4 separate regions of the Homo sapiens genome follow, and all the other regions are linked to region 1. The links are contacts of gene promoters, found by promoter capture Hi-C in blood cells and fetal thymus (Javierre and others, 2016). All regions are on one chromosome and are shown on one strand. The core of a region is centred on a gene start or on the middle of the fragment in contact, and the rest is flanking DNA. Distances in the headings are between cores, read along the strand shown. Region 1 holds the start of HSP90AB1 (heat shock protein 90 alpha family class B member 1). Region 2 has its middle 2.5 kb from the start of SCIRT. Region 3 has its middle 22 kb from the start of SCIRT. Region 4 overlaps MRPL14 (mitochondrial ribosomal protein L14).

Region 1 (4,348 bases), core at 492-2,991:
CTTTCCCCTCCTTCTAGAGTATCAAAAAAAAAAACCATGCCAAATGTGGAAACCAGAGCACCTACATCAGAAGCATTAGAGATCAACTCCCGAAGGAAAATCTCCTTGTTGGAATAGAAGGTATTGATGATGAGGGACATGAGTTGGGCAATTTCTGCCTGAAAGGCAAAAGTCTCCACCTCCTCCTCTCCATGGTGCACTTCCTCAGGCATCTAAAATAAAAATCTCATTAATTACAAAAGAACACTAAGGCCCCATGTTTAAAAATCCTAAAGGTCATATCATTTGTTAGGACCTTAGACAGTGAGTTCAGACTGGTTTAACCGGAGTACTATCCCTTCCCAAGACTAAAAATGCATTCTCTTAAAGATCTCAGACTACACACTAAGTGGGAGGCCTGAAAATTCAGAAGGAAAAAGAAAATAAGCTAAATATTCTTCAACCAAATGTCACAGAACCCACCTACTTAAAGAATGGTGACCAGCAGCCTCAGCATCATCTGGTAGTATGGCAGAAAAATCATAATGTTGGTCCAACCCAGGTATCTAGAGATCCCAAGTAATCCTTACACAAATTTAAATGTGAAAATCACTACCTACAGTTCTTTATTTGGGGGAGATCAAAGTGACTAGTTTAAGATAAAAATGGCACTAACTTTAAACTGCTCCCCCTGAGGTGTCAGTTCCTAAGACCAGTCCAAGGGCGGGACACTCCTGCCCCATAGGGCAGGGAGGAATAACCTGGGATCCATACGATACCCACCGGAGGAGCAATTAAATCCGGACAAAGAATTCTTAAGCCAAAAGCTCCACCACGACCCTTTCACAGCACAAAATTACAGAACAGGACCAAACCCAAGAAAGATGGTGGCCGTAGCCACCAGGCCGACACTCGTCACTGCCGGACATGCGTCGGCCAGGACCACGCGAGGAGGGGGCGCCGCAGTGCACCCTCCCTCGCCCCAGCATCCGGGCACTGGGGCGGGGCGCCAGAATCCAGAAGCTTCCAGAACAATCTCAGCTCTCGAGGAAGGGCGGAGGAAGGAGCCCATGAATCTTCCAGAACCTGCTCCCCTCCCCGCCCCTCCTCCACCGGGACTGCAAGAAAGATCTGGAAGGAGGGAGTATCGGGTGCTGGAGACCGAAAGCTCTCTTCCCACACCGTCAACCCTCCCTCACAGAAACAAAGCACCCAAGAAGGCTTTAACAACGCGTCCGATAAGAGAGGTGACAAAGCCAGTCCCACAAGGCCGTGCTGAGTCACCCGAGCGGGCACCCCCGCCACCCTGCGGTCCCCCTCCGACGCCCCGTAGCCGCGTCCGGAAGTGGAGGGGCAAAAATGGCAGCGTCCCGGGCCGCGCGGCCACCACGTGCAGCTGCCAGCCGCCCACTGCCCCAACCCCACAGCCCACCTCGCTACGGCCAGCAGGCGCCGAGAGAAAGCCCCACCCCCCAAACACACTAGAGAAAACCGAGGAGGACTCAAAAAACCTCACCCACCACTACCCTCACCCTATAAAAATCCAGAGCGTTATCCACAAGCCACCCCGACATCTAGACTAAGGCTCCCTAAAGGACAGAAAAAAACAAAAACAACACGAATACAGCACTAAAGGGAAAGAAGCCTAGCGGAGATCTCAGCCTTACCTTGAAAAGAAAAGGATTATACGTAATAGTGAGCAACGTAGGCTTGCTTTCCGATACCCAGACAGTCCCAACACTGCGCCGGAGTGACTCGAGAGAGCTACTGCGTGCCCCAAGTCGCCCTATATAAGGCGAAGCACAGTACAGCCGCCCTCCTGTAGATCCCTCCGCCTTAAAGGAGTATGATTGTCAACCCCGCACCTGCCGCCACCAGCCCACCTTGACGTCATGGTCCGAAAAAAAGAGGGGGCGGGGAAGAACCCAAGCAACGGATCCGCCCACACATTTGCTTGTGATCACAGCCCCATAGTTTCACGTCTAGGACATGACTCCATCAAGAGCGGGGATGAGGAGTGCTCATTTGGCATAAACGGTGTCTCTACGGGCGAGGAACCCACTGACCTCCCTAAACACTTGTGGGGCAGGCGTCCCCACACCCAAGGGCGGGACTGGGGGGGACACCGAAAAAGAGCGGAGGCAGCTAACCACGCGGACCACCGCTCCCAGACCCAATCTTCTTCCTAGCATCTGCCCTACACATCTCGCGTCCCGACAGAGGGACTGGCATTCGGGACCCAACCTTGGGTAGCCCCAGATCCCGACTCTCGCAGGAGTAGAGGAAGGGCGGAGGGTTCGCGCTGAGGGGCAGCTCAGCGTAGGGGGAGGGCGCCGGCCGGGGCTGGCGGGGACTCTTTGCCGACATGCGGCGGAAGGCGCGGCGGCGGCACTGCGGCATTTCCAGCAGTTTCCAGGCCTGTCTCGGCGGTCCCGCCCCCTCCCCGCGAGGCTCCGCCTCTCCGGCTGCGGCCGGGGCAGGGTTTTTGCAGCGACCCCACCCGGCGACCCGCTCTGACCTGTCCGAGAGACGCGGGTACCAGCCCAATCCTCAGGGATGGGATGGAGGGTTGGGGAGGGATCGGCTGACCCCTCCTTCCCCGCGTCAATCACACAACACCCAGGCACCTGGGGCGGCTCTGCGGGCGTACACTTTTGCAGACTGAGAGTGGAGTACCTGCGGGGGGGACCCCCCTCTAGCCCCTGCGGCCGCCACGTACACGGAGCACGGGGACATGCGCCCTCCCTACGCAGGCACGTCAAGCCCTTTCTCAAGCTGGTTCGCTTTTTTTCCGCCCACTTCGCTCCTGCAGCCATTTGGACCTGGGAAGGAGGGAGTCTCTGGGAACCAGTGCAGGGCAGCCGGAGCTCTTGGAGGCCGCGTGACGATGCCGGCCACAGAGCGGCTGGCCAAGTTGTTCCCCTTCAGCCTTGGCACCAGAGCCCCTAGGCCATGCCCCTGGCCAGTGAGCTGCCGTGTCTGGCCTGGCTCAGCCGTTTTGCCTGCCCTCCAGTTGGCAAGCTGTCCTTGCCTTTCCAAGGCCTCATCCGAAAGCCTGCTGGACCCACAACCCCTCCAGGAGAGAATAGCCACTCCCTGCTCTGTGCCCTGTAGATGTCCATCTGCTCCCCTTCCTGGCCCACCCCTGGGATGCTTGGGAAGAGTTTCCCCACAGCCACCCACATCGTCCTCCCTCACCAGCCCTGTTGTTACCCAGTCTACGATTCGTTAACAAGTTTTGTTCATGTGTTGAATACCAAAGAACAAAGGGTGTCCCTTGCTTTCCTCTTCTTTGTCCCTGTCCACTTCGCCATGCCTGCCATCACCATCCCGATTGGATATCCTTTCTCCCTTTCATTATGGTCTGCAAAAAGCCTATGGCTGGGAGAAGTCTATAAGAAGGGGCGTTGGGTGCTCTATTCCTGACCAAAACCGCAAACCAGTGGGAGCGTGATCCCTTAACGTGTCCTCTCCTTCTAAGCAGAGCTCATTAAAAATCTGCTCCCCAGTTCACAGAGAGCATTCACAAACTCTCACTCTCCTGTGAGCGGATGAAAGTCAGTGTGCACATTCTGTCAACAGGGAAGTGGCTTCAGTGACTCCCAAGGCCCGTCTACTCAGAGTCCTTGCTGCACTAGCTCCCTTTCTGCTCCAGAAATGGAGCAGGGATGTGATCTCACCCCTAGGACCTAAATCCAAAGCAGGAATCACTCCTGTGGATGGGCTTCCCCTGAGCTGGATCCTTTCTGTGTCAAGACTCGACGGCTTCCTGAAGACTTTCTAAATGGGAAAATCTCAAATGTTACACCAGCATAGAAATTCCACTTTCTCTGCTGGGCACAGTGGCTCATACCTGTAATCCCAGCACTTTGGAAGGCCGAGGTGGGTGGATCACCCGAGGTCAGTAGTTCACAACCAGCCTGGCCAACATGGTGAAAAACCTCGTCTCTACTAAAAATTAGCTGGGCGTGGTGGCACATGCCTGTAATCCCAGCTACTTGGGAGGCTGAGGCAGGAAGATTGCTTGAACTCTGGAGGCAGAGGCTGCAGTGAGCTGAGACCATGCCATTGCACTCCAGCCTGGGCAACAAAAGAGAAACTCCGTCTCAAAAAAAAAAAAAAAAAAAAAAGGGGGCTGGGCGCGGTGGCTCATGCCTGTAATTCCAGCACTTTGGGAGGCCGAGTCCAGCGGATCACCAGGTCAGGAGTTCAAGACCAGCCTGGCCACTCTGGTGAAACCTTGTCTCTACTAAAAATACAAAAATTAGCCGGGCGTGGTAGCGCGCCTATAGTCCCCGCTACTTGGGAGGCTGAAGCAGGAGAATCACTTGAACCCGGGCGGCAGAGGTTGCCGTGAGCCGAGATCACG
Region 2 (4,348 bases), core at 550-3,049, 170 kb after region 1:
ACCAGGAGTCACCCTCAGCTCATGCTTGAAGTGAAGGCAGCACAGAAAAAGGGAAAGGAGCTGTAAGGGAGAAAAGGAGGAGGACACCCCACCACAGAGTGGATGAGCCTGGAGGGGACCCAAGGCTGCCAGAGTGGCTGCTTCATTTCTGCAGGAAGGTGCAGGACAGAACTCAGACTGGTGGGCACCGTGCCAGCAGGCAGAGGAGGGAGCAAAGGCTCATTTGTCTGCCTTCGGAATTCTCCTTCCCATGCTGATGTCAAATCACAATTCAACAGATTCTTCATGGGGCACCTGCTGCACACAGAGGGACAGGAATCTTACTGAACACCTAGTATATGCCAGAGCCTACACACACAGTGGGCTACTCAACATTCACAACAACTCTGTACAGTAAGTACAAATATTGGTCCCAAGATACAGATTGGGAAACTGAGGCTTATACCAGTTATGTGTTGTGCCCAAGGTCACCAAGCTGGATGAGGACTGACGCCTGTCTGGAGCCTAAATTCTTTCTCCTACACCAGATTGACTTCCAGAGAGTTCTAGGATACAAAGCTGGCAACAGACTTTCTGCCACGTAGAGGGATATGGCAGGTGACAACCCTGTCTGGCTCTGCTAATCAGGATCCAGTAAGAAGCTCAAGACAGGTGGCCACTCTGCTGGTAGGCAGAGGAGGGAGCTGTGCTCCCTGGGGTGGGTAGAAGTAAGGTTTGTGTGGGTGCTGGGTGTTGGACACGGGCAGGCTGCAGACATAGCAGCAATGAGGGGAGACTCTCTCAACCTGCCCATGTCCTCCTCTGAGCAATCTCCCCGCCCCAGAATTATTTCAGTTTCCTCATCTGTCAGTTCTAGGGGTGGACTTCATTCATTCAATACTGTGTCCCTGACCTCTGCTCCCTGCCAGGCTCTGAACTAGTCATGTGTCAGGCTGGATACTTAGATGGACAAGACAAGCCATCCCCTGCCCACAGCTGCCCCACCTGAAGTCTAGGCCAGTGACCTCCGAAGTTTTTTTGATCATGTGCCCTTAGCAATAAAAAAGATTGTTGAGTACGCACCCGTCAGATGAGTATGTTTTTATATAGTTTACCTTGTAAAACACACTCACACTAAATGAAAAAAGGATTCGATGAAAAATAAATAGGCATTCTAAAACTTTCTTCCAGTACCCCTGAACCACGCACACATATGGCACTTGGAACCCAACTGCTCCAGGAGCTGGGAGGGTAGGGTCAGTCCAGCCATACTCAGGACGGATGTGTGGTCAGTGTTCCAGAACATCCTTGCCCACCCCTTTATGCCCTAGCAAAGGAAGGGAGAAACTTCAGATACAGCAGGTGGGAGTGTGGGCAGATGGGAAGCGTAAGCAGGTTTATGTCTGAGGAGGCAGACAAGAGGCAGGTTTTTATTTTAGACTGTGATGTTGAAAATTTTGTGATCACTTTTTACACTGTCCCAGGACATACAGAACCAAGACATAGTGTCCCAAGTAGTATCTAATTTCATATACTTTAGGTAGTTCTATTCCATTTCCAAAGGTTTAGAATACCGCCCCACCTCAACCCCCAGGAAACTGGGGAGCACTCCCTCCACTACACACACTTGGGACACGAAGGACAGACCCTGGTTGGGGAGGCACTTAGGTGTCCCTTCCTTAGGGGCTTTATCTCTCACTTCCCCTCCTGGGTTGGAGGCTCCTGTGACCCCCTCGCCTGGGCAGGTCCCCATGCAGGGTAGAGCACTTGGAGGCCTCTGTAAACATGGGTTACAGGAGAGAGGGGGCAAGAGGCCACAGCTGGGGTACATAAGGAAACCCCTCTGTGGGCCCCCTTACTCAGAGAAGTCTCAGGAGAAACCCTTTCCCCCACCCCCAGTCCTGGCACCAAGCTGGAGAAAGACAAAATGGCTTGTGAAGGCATCTGTCTGCCCTCCAGGGTGGCTGCCAGGGGGGCAGCCATGATGGCTGGCCTGGTGTGGGTGCCTTTGTGTGCCATGACTGGGTGTCTGTTTCTGCAGTCACTAGGCGCTTGTTCTGTGGGGTGAGGGGTGTGGGGGTGGGGGCACGGCCTATGGCAGGGCACGTACGTGAGGCTGGGCACGAAAAGCCTCACCCACCTCCTGCCAGGTACAACCAGCTGCTGGGGCCAACTGCCGACCGCCTCCTCCCTTCCCTGGGCACGGCCAGGCCGGGGGGCAAATGACTTGGCAGGCACCTCCCCTCAGTTGGACCCACTAGGGCAGGGCCGGCTCACCTGGGGCACAGGCAGGGCTCCTGGCTGGGTGGGTGTTCTGCCAATCCCTTCCCCAACTCCTAAAGTGGGAGGGTGGTGGTGAGGCCAGGGAAGGGGCGCAGGTCAGAGATATGCCCCCTCTCCTCTCCCAGACTGTGCATGGGTAAAGCAGGGCAGAGAGGGGCTGGTGGAGGGGCGGGAAGTTTCTCTGTTTAGGGCCAGGAAATGATTTCCATGCAAATGAGATGCAAACTCCTTAATGAGTTTGCAATTAGGAGACCAAGGCTGCCAGGCCGGGCAGCGCCTGCAGGTTTTATGAATGGGCCAGCGTAGGCGGGGGGGAGGGGGCGCGCCGGCCCGCCCCCACATTTCCCTGCCGCGGCGCCCGCGACATGCCGCGCCGCACGTTGCTGCCTCCAGGCCCCGCCGCGACCTGGCCCACCGCCAGCGGGTCAGCTGCTCCGGACGGCGCGGGAGGCTGCCGGCCAGAGTCCCCGCCACGCCGCCGGCCGGCGACGCAAAGGAGCCGACGACACTCCCCCTGGGGCCCGGCAGGGGCTCTGTCCTCGGGCCCCCTTTTTTCCCGGTTATTGGAATGATTTCCCGAAGCAGGAAGGCCAGAAGTTAGCCTTCAGGCCCCGTTGTATTTAAAATGGGCTGCCCTGGGACTTCACTGACCAAAGGAGGGGGCTGGGCCCCTAACTTGGGTGACAGCAATGACCTTGGGAGGGATGGAATTATACGTGACAGGAGAGGGACCAGTTCCCATCCCAGAGCTCCTTGCACCTCTCCAATTCCCTCATGCCAGTCCACACCTCCCTAACCTCAAAAGGCCTGTTCCCACCACCCCAGGGCACCTGCTTTTTCTGCAGAGCCACCCTAGTCCACTTTGGGTCTTGCTCTGACCTGGGGCCCAGGAGAGGGTCTCCTAAGTGGGTGGGTACACACAGGTTTGCTGTGGTCCAGAAGGAGGCTGACCAGAGTTTGAGAGTTTGAGCCCAGTTAGGTCACAGCCCCCTACCTCCTCCCCTCCCCTCTCCTCCCCCTGTCCCCGCCCTGCCCCATTGCTTTCAGAGTAAATTAACTAATTACCTCCAATTAAAGCACCTGGCTCTCTGTATCCTCCTAGGCCTTCAATCACTGCTTCTGGGAGTCCTCTTCATCCAGGCAGGGTCTGGAAGGGGGCCTGACCAGTAAGTTGGAAGTCAGTGAATCAATGAAGTGGGGCGGGGAAGACAGGATGGAGGAAGCCCACAGTGCCATTTACTGCTTGGGAGTGGTCCAGGCAGCCAGGACCTCTGACTTGGCCAGCTTGCAGACTGAGGTTGGGTCTGGGGACTTGGGCCCTAGGGGGGCCTGTGAAGGCTGGGAGCAGGAGCTGCCTTTGGAGGTTAAGTCCCTGGTGAAGGGCCTGTGCAGATGTGTGCAGATGTCAAGGCCCTGAGGGTGACCCTAGAAGCCCCTCAGCAGGAGAAGCAACTTGAGGGTCAGGTCCTAGAAGCTAGCAGTTCTTGGCACCTGCTGCCTCCCTCACCCAGCAGGCAGGGAGAGACTCCAAATGCCTGTAGGCCCAACCAGTCCCTCCTGTCTTTAACCCCAGCTGGCTCCTCCTGCTGCTCAGGAAGTGAAAACCCCTCCATTCTTTTCTCCGGGCCCCCTTGGTGGCCCCCAGGCACAGGCCCAACACTAGCTCTGCCCAGCACTGTCCTGGCCCACCCCACGTGTAGGACGTGATGGGGAGGATACCTGGTGGCAGGAGGCAGACTGATGGATTGTTGACCTGGGTCTCACCTCTGGACGAGCTGGCCATTCCTGGGGACTGGGCAGGGTCACGCCAGGCTGTGACTCAGGCCCCTGCCCCACCATGCCAGGGACCTGGGCTTGGGCCATCCTCTGTGTATGTGGGGTGGGGTGGAGCAGAGGTTTGTCAATTGGAGGCTTCTCTTTGGGGACACCTCTCACAGCCCCAGGGAGCCAGACTATGACTAGAAGGATCAGGGTTTCCATGGCTGCTCCTCCCCACCCACCACCCCAATAGAGGCTGACAGGAAGGACTCCCAAGCAGGGCACAGCAGCCATATGAGTTAGTGGGTGTATGAGCCATCCAGGACAG
Region 3 (4,348 bases), core at 714-3,213, 150 kb after region 1:
GGTGGGTGGTCACTCGAGACCAGGAGTTCGAGACCAGCCTGGCCAACATGGTGAAACCCCGTCTCTACTAAAAATACAAAAATTAGCTGGGCCTGGTGGTGTGCACCTGTAATCCCAGCCACTTGGGAGGCTGAGCATGAAGATCACCTGAACCTGGGAGGCAGAGGTTGTGGTGAGCTGTGATATCACACCACTACATTCCCTGCACTCCAGCCTGGGCACCAGAGCAAGATACCCTGTCTCAAAAAAAAAAAAAAAAAAAGGCAAAAAAGCACAAGAATGATACCCAAGACAGTGCTAATAGTGGGAGTTCCTTTGGGGAGGAGGGAGGTAGAAGGTTCCTGGTCAAAGGTGACACAGCTCTGTAGTGCTTTAATTTTTTAATAAAGAGACTATATCCCTCTATTATTTGTGTACTTAAAATCACAAATAATTTTAAAATGCAATGCACATACCATGTGTATGGGGGAATGAGGGCAAGAGGAAGGGATTCTGAAGGAGGTGGTGTGGGGTAGAGCTTTTATATCAGACAAGCCTGTATTCCAGTCCTGACCTTGACAATTACCTGCCAGTGACTTCAGGCAAGTCACCTTACTCTCTGAGTCTCAGCCTCCTCATTTGAGAAGTCAGGATGACAATGTCTGCCTTCCAGGGCTCTTGTGTGGATATGGAGTAGGCCGTAGAATTCTTGGCACATAGTAGGTGCTCAGCGTATCAATCATAGCCATTATTGTTATTTCAAATTTCAGCCAAAAATAATCACTTGAGCTCTTAGTAGGTGACAGTTGGATTAAGGACATTGGGACTGTATCTGGTTCAATCAGGGATGACTTCCTGGGGGAGGAGGGGCTTGAGCTACTTAAATATATGTGGGAAGTGGGGCAGCATTGAGTTAGAGAGAGGGCTGTGTGCAGAGGCCAGGGAGGGATTATGCCTGTGTGCCTATTATTAGTAATGATATTACTTATTTCCATATTATAGACAAAGAGGGAGAGTCCAAGTAACTTGTCCACAGACACATAGCTAGTAAGTGTAGGGTGTTCACATGGAAGGGATGGGCAGAGGAAGAGAAATGGGAAAATGCAGGAAACTGGGATAGTTCTGTGGGAGGAGAAGGGAGAAAAAGAATGGGCTTTGTAATCAGAAAGGCTCCTGAAGAGAGGGATGTGGGGGATTTAACAGGCCAGCCATTGCCCTTTACTTAAAAAAAAAAATGCCCAGGGGAGATGTAGGACCTTAAGGTCTTACCTTTGCAAGACGCTCTTGACAGAGGCCACTGGCTCTCCATCTCCCTTGGGCCCAAGCAGAAAGGATTGGGGCCCCTCCCCACAGGAAGGGGTGCTAGGCTGACTAGTCCTAGGAGGCTGGGCGTCTTTTCCCCAGGAACCCTCCAAGAACTGGGTGGGTTGAGAGCTGGCTGGCAGTACTGTGCCAAATGAAGTCGCTGCATGCCCTGTAACCTGGCAATTCCGCTTCTTAGGTTTTCAGGCCGAGCCGTAACGGTTCCTGTCAAGGACGGTCATGGCAGGGTTGCTGGGGTGTTGGAGGGAACTTGGGTGCCTGTCGCCCTCAGAGTGGGTAAATAAATGTGGAAGGTGCCCACCAGAAACTAAATGTGCTCACAGCAACATGAATGAGGTTTAAAAATACAGTGCTGAGCGAAAACAATTAAGAAATATATCTATAATGTGTGTGTGTGTTTTTTATATATATATATATATATATATATATATATATTACTAATTGTGAAACTAAAAAATACATGCACTTGTTTTGCAAGGACACATACAAATGGTTGGCTATGGGTTAGGATGAGGAATGAGAATAAAAATGAGATAAATGCAGAGTGTGGTGAAATCCAGTTCCTCTGCAGGTGGAAAGGGTGGCCAAGCGGTCAACCCACATTTCTGTGCACATTGTGCCATCTAGTGGGCAAAGGGGCGTTCAGCTGCCCTGGTCCTGGAGCTGGTGCAACTATGGCACCATGACATCCTGGGCAGGTGCTGCCTCAGCTGGGCCCCCAGAGCAGAGGTGAGAGGTGAGTGCTGCCTGTCAAGTGGGGGCCAGGCACAGCCTGCTGTAGGCCTGGCCAGTGGGGCTGGTAGCCATTTCTGTTGCAGCAGGGAGGAGGGTTCAGACAGGCCTGCCTGCCTCCAGGAGCTGTCTGATGTCAGGGCTGGCTCTTCACCGCCTGCTATGGCAGGCAGGCAGGTGGTTCCTGAGAAGGGAGTGGCTGAGACTCTGATGCCAGATTTTCACATGTAGCCCTCCCTTCTGGCAGGAAAGAGAGCATCTGGCAGGATCATTGTGAAAGCAAAGAGGAGAGAGGAGAGCAGGTAGAGACACTCAGAGTCTAGAGAGAGCAATGACTACCTTGAGGTGGAGTACGGAGGACAGACCCTGGCACCAGACTGCCAGGGTTCACATCCCTTGGGCAAGTCCCCTGTGCATCAGTTTCCCCTCCTTGGAATGTAATAGTACGTACCTTGTAGGGTTGAAGTGAGTCAAAATAAGGCACTTAAAACAGGTCCCCTTTCCGGGTCAGGGCTGTGTAAGTGTTGTCCACTCTCAGTATCTGAGGTTCACCCAACTCCTGTAAAGCCAGCACCCTGCTCTCATCCTTCATGAGAGTCATGGGGCATGAACAGAATGCCCTGGGCTGATGGGGGTCACTGCAGCAGGGCCTGGGGCTATAGGCTAGGAAGGGACTCCAGCCATGGACCCAGGCCAAACTGTGGAGGGAGGTGGGGTGAAGCAGGGCGGGGCCTGGGGCTGGGGACACTGCATTCTTTTTTTGTTTTTTGAGACGGAGTTTCGCTCTCGTCACCCAGATTGGAGTGCAATGGCGCCATCTCGGGTTCAAGCGATTCTCCTGCCTCAGCCTCCCAAGTAGCTGGGATTACGGGCTCCTCCCACCACGCCCAGCTAATTTTTTGTATTTTTAGTAGAGACAGGGTTTCACCATGCTGGCCAGGCTGGTCTCGAACTCCTGACCTCAGGTGATCCGCCAACCTTGGCCTCCCAAAGTACTGGGATTTTACAGGCATGAGCCACCACGCCCAGCTGGACACCCCATTCTTGGGGTCTGTAAAAATACTTTCTTGGCCGGGTGTGGTAGCTCATTCCTGTAATCCTAGCACTTTGGGAGGCTAAGGAGGGTGGGTCACCTGAGATCAGGAGTTCGAGACCAGCTGGCCAACATGGTGAAAACCTGTCTCTACTAAAAATACAAAAATTAGCTGGGTGTGGTGGCACACGCCTGTAGTTTCAGCTACTCAGGAGGCTGAGGCAGGAAAATCGCTTGAACTCGGGAGGCAGAGGTTGCAGTGAGCCAAGATCGCACCATTGCACTCCAGCCTGGGCAACAAGAGTGAAACTCCTTCTCAGTCTTGGTTACCTCTGGGGCTTGACGGGCCCTGTCCTGCCCCACCTCTCTCTACAGCCTCTGGCCATTTATTTTAGCTGCCCCTCCCCACACACCAGCCTCTCCAGGCCCCTGCATCACAGTCATCTTTCTAAAGCACAGTACAGCTCAGCCTGTTGAAGAACCTGCCTTGGCTCCTCGTTGCCCAGAAATTCAATGTAGACATCCTTGGTAGGCATTCAGGGTCCCTTCTGGTCTGGCCCACCCTGCCTTCCACGCCCATCTCCCGCCAGTTCTACTCTCAGCAACTCCATTGCCTCTCAGCTCCCACCAGGCCTCATGTTCCACATCCCTGGCCTTGCTCAAGTTATTCTCCTTGTTTTGAGCGCTCGTCCTCCCCACTTTTCCACCTGGCAAAATCCTCCTCATTCTTAGGGACCCAGTTAGTTCCTCCATGAAGACTTCCCCGGCAAACTGTGTCCCCCCACCCCAGGCTTCTGTCATAAACCACTTGTCATTAATCACTTAACAGTTATCACATTTTGTCACAGCCAGCCAGTTCCTGTTCAGTGAGTAGAGGAAAGAAAACATGGACTTTGTTACCAGACTATATGATGGAATCTCAGCTTGGCTACTCACCAGCTATGCGACCCTGGGCAAGTTACTTAACCTCTGAGCTTTGGTTTTCTCATCTACTAAATGGGGATAATGCTCATATTTAACCCGGATTCCTCACCAGGCCTGCAAAGCCTTGCCTGCCTCCTGTCTCCTGTTGCTCTCCACATCTCACCCACATCAACGTCCCTGCCCCTCCTTGAACATTCTCAGTCCTTTCTTGCGTCCCTGCCTTTGCACCTGCCCTTCTCTACCTGGAATGTTTCCTTCTCATTCCATTCTCCACCTCATTTCCAATGTCACCTCCTCAGAGAGGCCCTCTGCAACCACCTTCTCTAAATCCCCCGCCTGGTTTTGCTTCATCTTACT
Region 4 (4,348 bases), core at 1,160-3,659, 130 kb after region 1:
TATTTTTAGTAGAGACAGGGTTTCTCCATGTTAGTCAGACTGACCTCAAACTCCCGACCTCAGGTGATCTGCCCACCTCGGCCTCCCAAAGTGCTGGGATTACAGGCGTGAGCCACCGTGCCCGGCCATGAGGTTTAAATGAGATAGTAATGTAAGACACTTAGCCTGCTGTGTGACACATTGTAACCATTTGATAAGTGTTCATAAATAAAGAAACAGAAAGAGGCCAAATGACCCTTAAAGCTGCTTGACACCCAGGGCTCTCCTGTGAAATGAGCTTTGGTATAGCAGAGCAAGGCTGCAGAGTGCGGTTGGAACACTCTTGGACTGAACCTGGATCCAGTTCTGTTTCTGCCCTTGACTAATTGTGGGACTCTACACAAGTCACTTAATCTGCCTGTATATCAATTTTCTAATCTTTAAAATGATATATGACATCATGATGATGATAGCTAATAGGTAATGAGTGCCAGGCACTGTGCTAAGTGCTTTGCATGGCTTATCTAATTGAATCCTCATAACTACCTTGGGGGCAGATACTATTAGTATCCCTGTGTTACAGATGGTAAACCAAAGCTCAACAGTTTGGTTACTTGTCCAGGGTCATCTCACCAGTAAAAGTAAAGCTAGTCTCATTTGGTAGTCTGTGATTCTCTGTGTGTCAGATGTTAGTAGTTGCATACATTAGCTGCCTTCTTTTGCATTTGATTTTTCTGATCATAATTACATTTTGGCTGATGCTTCATGGGTTGTCTTAAGGAAAACATTTGGGAGTAAGTTTGGGATTTGAGGCTAAATTGTAGTTAATAAGCATTTAAAGGCCAGGTGTGGTGGGTGGCTCACACCCATAATCCCAGCACTTTGCGGGGCTGAGGCGGGAGGATTGCATGAACTCAGGAGTTCAAGGCCAGCCTGGGCAACATAGTGAGACCATCATCTCTACAAAAAAAAAAAAAAAAAAAAAAAAAACACAAAAAATTAGCCAGGCGTCCTGGTGCATGTCTGTGGTCCTGACTACTTGGGAGGCTGAGGTGGGAGGATCACCTGAGCTTGGGGAGTTCGGGACTGCAGTGAGCTGCAGTTGCACCACTACATTCCAGCATGGGTGACAGAGCAAGACTTGTCTCAAGGAAAGAAAAAAAAGTATGGAGTGTCTAGGTATTCCTGGGGAGGAGTGGATTCCCCTGCCCCACCCTAACATTCTTATTAAATAAAATCTTATCTGAGGTGGTTTGAACTTGTGCATAGCAAAGCTGTGTGTAAATACTACAGTGTAGAGGCTTTTCTCGGCAGACCTCTTGAATGGGCACCTCTGCTGCCAAACGTTTGGGTGGAAAAACAGGTGTGTTTTGCAGCTGGCTACAGGCCTTTCTGAAGCATGCTCTGAAGTGATGTTCAGGTGTTTCAGGGCACTGGCAGCCTCCATATTTGTTAGTGCTAGGGAGCAACAGGGTTGAGATTCTGAAAACTGGAGTCACAAGTCTTGGGTTGGTGTTTGCTCTTTTAGCTAACTCTTCAAGTTGGTTTCCCAAAGCCCACTTTCAGCTGTAGTATGGTGTAGGTCAGTTTTCCATGTTACAGTGTTTGGGAGACTGACCCAAATAAAGACTTTGGTCTTTGACTTGGCAAGAGCAGCCTTTGGCTTTGCTTTGCTGGCCTTGAGCTGTACAGGTGTTCTGGCCTTTACATTTGGGGGAAAGGTGATGTAGTGATAGACAACTTGGGTGGCTGCTTAGATAATTTACTTTCTTTTAGGGAGTTAAAGTGCTGGTTTCAGAAGGCATATGAATATCAAAAAGGGCAATAGTGTGCAGTTTTTCCTCTATGGAGGACTCGAGAAGAAGTCCCTGGCTGGGTTTATAACCAAGGGCTCATATTTTCCTCCTGCCTGTGGAAGTGATATAATAAGGAAGGCATTCTCCGTGCTGTTGTATTTTTTTATAGCAGAAGCTGTTGTGGGCCATTCTCCCTCTCCAACCCCAGAGTTAGAATGTGAATCAGCAAAATCGGAGCTACAGCTCTGTCTAATCATCTGTGTATCCTTTAACCACTAAGATTTATATTTTGTGACTAATGATCTTGTGCTGGAAGTGCCATCTCCCACACAAGTCCCCAAAGAAAACTGGCTTTAAGGGCTCTGACTTAGAAACCAATTTTTCCCCCTCTCGTTTTTCCTGCAGGATCTATCTTGGGATCCCATGGCTTTCTTTACTGGGCTCTGGGGCCCCTTCACCTGTGTAAGCAGAGTGCTGAGCCATCACTGTTTCAGGTAACTTTTCCCATTAAGTTCTTAAAACTGTGTCTTTGTGTAAGCTTCCTATCAGGGCTGGGTATTACGGTGACTAGAACAGGAGTAAAAACTCAGGGAGGTGGGCATGGGGTTGGGGAAAGCTAAAGTGATCAGGCTGAGCTGGCCTGGTTGGTCTGGTCACAGGATGGGGGATAGGTAAAGAGGTGATGTTGCTGTTAGAAGTGTGATGGGGAATGGCATATGGCGGAAGCTTTTACTCTTCAGTCCTTGCAAGACTCTTACAGTGAATCTGACATCTCTCAACCCTATCATTCCCCTAGAGCATTAAAATCCTTTTAAAAACGGAATTTTTTTAATTACAAAAATAATACATGCTTATTACCAAGAACTTGAGCATGATAGAAGTGTGACACCCTCCCCTCCTTGTAGATGCTAAGCCAGGAGAGCACAGGAGGCACGCTTGTTGGCAGACATGCCTCCTGGCCCCGTCATGCCCTCATCCCACAGGCATTTCCTGAGCACCGCACCTGGGGTTGGCCATACAGAGATGAAAGAGAGTTGCTTTCTGTCCTGAAAGAATTCTCACTGTCAGCCACAGGAGCAAACTTGAAAATAAGTAACTCTAAGAAAATGTGATAGAATATTATAATAGAGGATTGTACAGTGCTTTGGAAGGCGTCATATAGGAGCTGCTAGTGGAGGAAGAGGAGGAGAAAGAGTGGAGGCAGTCTTCTCAAAAGGGAGATGGGGGCAGATCCTGTCTAGGCCTCCAGGGAGAATTGGGAGGCAGGGTGTGCTTGGGGAAGTGGTTCCTGGTTCTCCTGCCCAGAGTGGTAGGATGTGTAGCCTTAGAAGGTAGGTAAATTGGGACAAGGTTGTTGACAGTGTAGATGGTGGGGAGTAGCATCACTTTTATATTCTAAAGAGAGCTCTTTGTTGGCAAAGTGAAGTGCAATGGGAACCAACTAGGACACTAATGTCACAGTCTTGGTGTAGGAGAGTGAGCTGCTAAATGAAGGAAGTTGTTGGCGGGATTGGAGAGAAAGGACATAGGTGCTTAGGGGGTGATATTAACAGGACTTGGTGGCCAGTTCATGTTGGTGGAGAGAGGTTTATGGCTTGGCTTCTGGTACTGCTGGAGAAGCCATCGTCTAGATAAGTGTAGCAGCAGGCGGAGGTTTGCAAGGGGAGGCAGTGAGATGAGTTTGGGACCTACTGAGTTTGCAGTATCTATAGAGCATGTTGTAGGGAGTTGAGGAGAGTGGAAATATATAGAACTAGAATATAGAAGAGAGGCGGGGCTGGAGATGGAATTTACTAGTTGGCAGCAATGCTAATGGGTAAGATTGCCCAGAGTAGGCATAAAAAACGAGAGAAGAGGTCCTAGGATTACCCTGCGGAAACACCAGCATCAGGTGCTAGCATCAGGAAAATAGGAATCCCACTGTAATCAGCTTGCTTAATAATACCTTGTCTGCCTTCAATAAGTACTCTCTAAAATTTTTTTTTCTAATGAGAAAAAATGTATTAAAACAGAAGATTGTTACCTTGACTTATTACCAGTTTCTGGTATGTTGTGTCAGAGAATTCCCTTAGTAAACTTACCCATATCTTCTAGTTCCCAGCAACATGTAAATAAGAAAATTAGGGGACCGGGCGCGGTGGCTCACGCCTGTAATCTCAGCCCTTTGGGAGGCCGAGGCGGGCGGATCATGAGGTCAGGAGATCGAGACCATCCTGGCTAACACGGTGAAACCCTGTCTCTACTAAAAAATACAAAAAATTAGCTGGGCATGGCAGCAGGCGCATGTATTCCTAGCTACTTGGGAGGCTGAGGCAGGAGAATGGTGTGAACCCGGGAGGTGGAGCTTGCAGTGAGCTGAGATGGCGCCACCGCACTCTAGCCTGGGCGACAGAGCGAGACTCCGTCTCAAAAAAAAAGAAAATTAGGGAATGGTGTATTCTGGGGAAGCAGGTTTTTCAGGATAGGCAGTGGGTGAGGCCTAGCCCATAAGGGATTCCTTTAAGTCCTTAGAGTCCTTTTGGAAAGCAAAGGCTTTAAGTTATGGCTGCTGTGAAGTTCATTGTCACAGAAAA

The links. The method cuts DNA at HindIII sites, captures the fragments that hold promoters and counts their contacts. A CHiCAGO score of 5 or more calls a contact.
Region 2: a fragment that was not itself captured here is called in contact with the fragment with the promoter of HSP90AB1 in region 1 in 1 of 17 cell types (fetal thymus); the score reaches 6.1 in fetal thymus.
Region 3: a contact is called between a fragment that was not itself captured here and the fragment with the promoter of HSP90AB1 in region 1, in 15 of 17 cell types (megakaryocytes, erythroblasts, M2 macrophages and 12 more). The highest score is 17.3, in megakaryocytes.
Region 4: a fragment that was not itself captured here is called in contact with the fragment with the promoter of HSP90AB1 in region 1 in 4 of 17 cell types (erythroblasts, fetal thymus, megakaryocytes and 1 more); the score reaches 7.0 in erythroblasts.

Annotation. Positions count from the first base shown.
Region 1 is chr6:44,244,494-44,248,841 of GRCh38, reverse strand. It overlaps HSP90AB1 (heat shock protein 90 alpha family class B member 1), which reads right to left and starts at 1,741. Exons shown (of 12, transcript NM_007355.4): 1 at 1,647-1,741; 2 at 66-212. The coding sequence starts at 212. RefSeq lists enhancers at 642-691, 1,176-1,930, 2,685-3,439 and a silencer at 2,242-2,481. The HindIII fragment of the contact is 5,727 bases long and covers 1,005-4,348 here.
Region 2 is chr6:44,074,993-44,079,340 of GRCh38, reverse strand. No RefSeq gene overlaps it. Among named protein-coding and RNA genes, the nearest start is that of SCIRT, 2.5 kb to the right of the region's middle. RefSeq lists an enhancer at 3,609-3,678. The HindIII fragment of the contact is 7,345 bases long and covers 1-4,348 here.
Region 3 is chr6:44,094,474-44,098,821 of GRCh38, reverse strand. No RefSeq gene overlaps it. Among named protein-coding and RNA genes, the nearest start is that of SCIRT, 22 kb to the right of the region's middle. RefSeq lists silencers at 1,829-1,998, 1,776-2,070. The HindIII fragment of the contact is 6,139 bases long and covers 1-4,348 here.
Region 4 is chr6:44,114,462-44,118,809 of GRCh38, reverse strand. MRPL14 (mitochondrial ribosomal protein L14) reads left to right here. Exons shown (of 3, transcript NM_032111.4): 2 at 2,181-2,269. The coding sequence starts at 2,199. Among named protein-coding and RNA genes, the nearest start is that of MRPL14, 11 kb to the left of the region's middle. RefSeq lists an enhancer at 1,435-1,604. The HindIII fragment of the contact is 188 bases long and covers 2,316-2,503 here.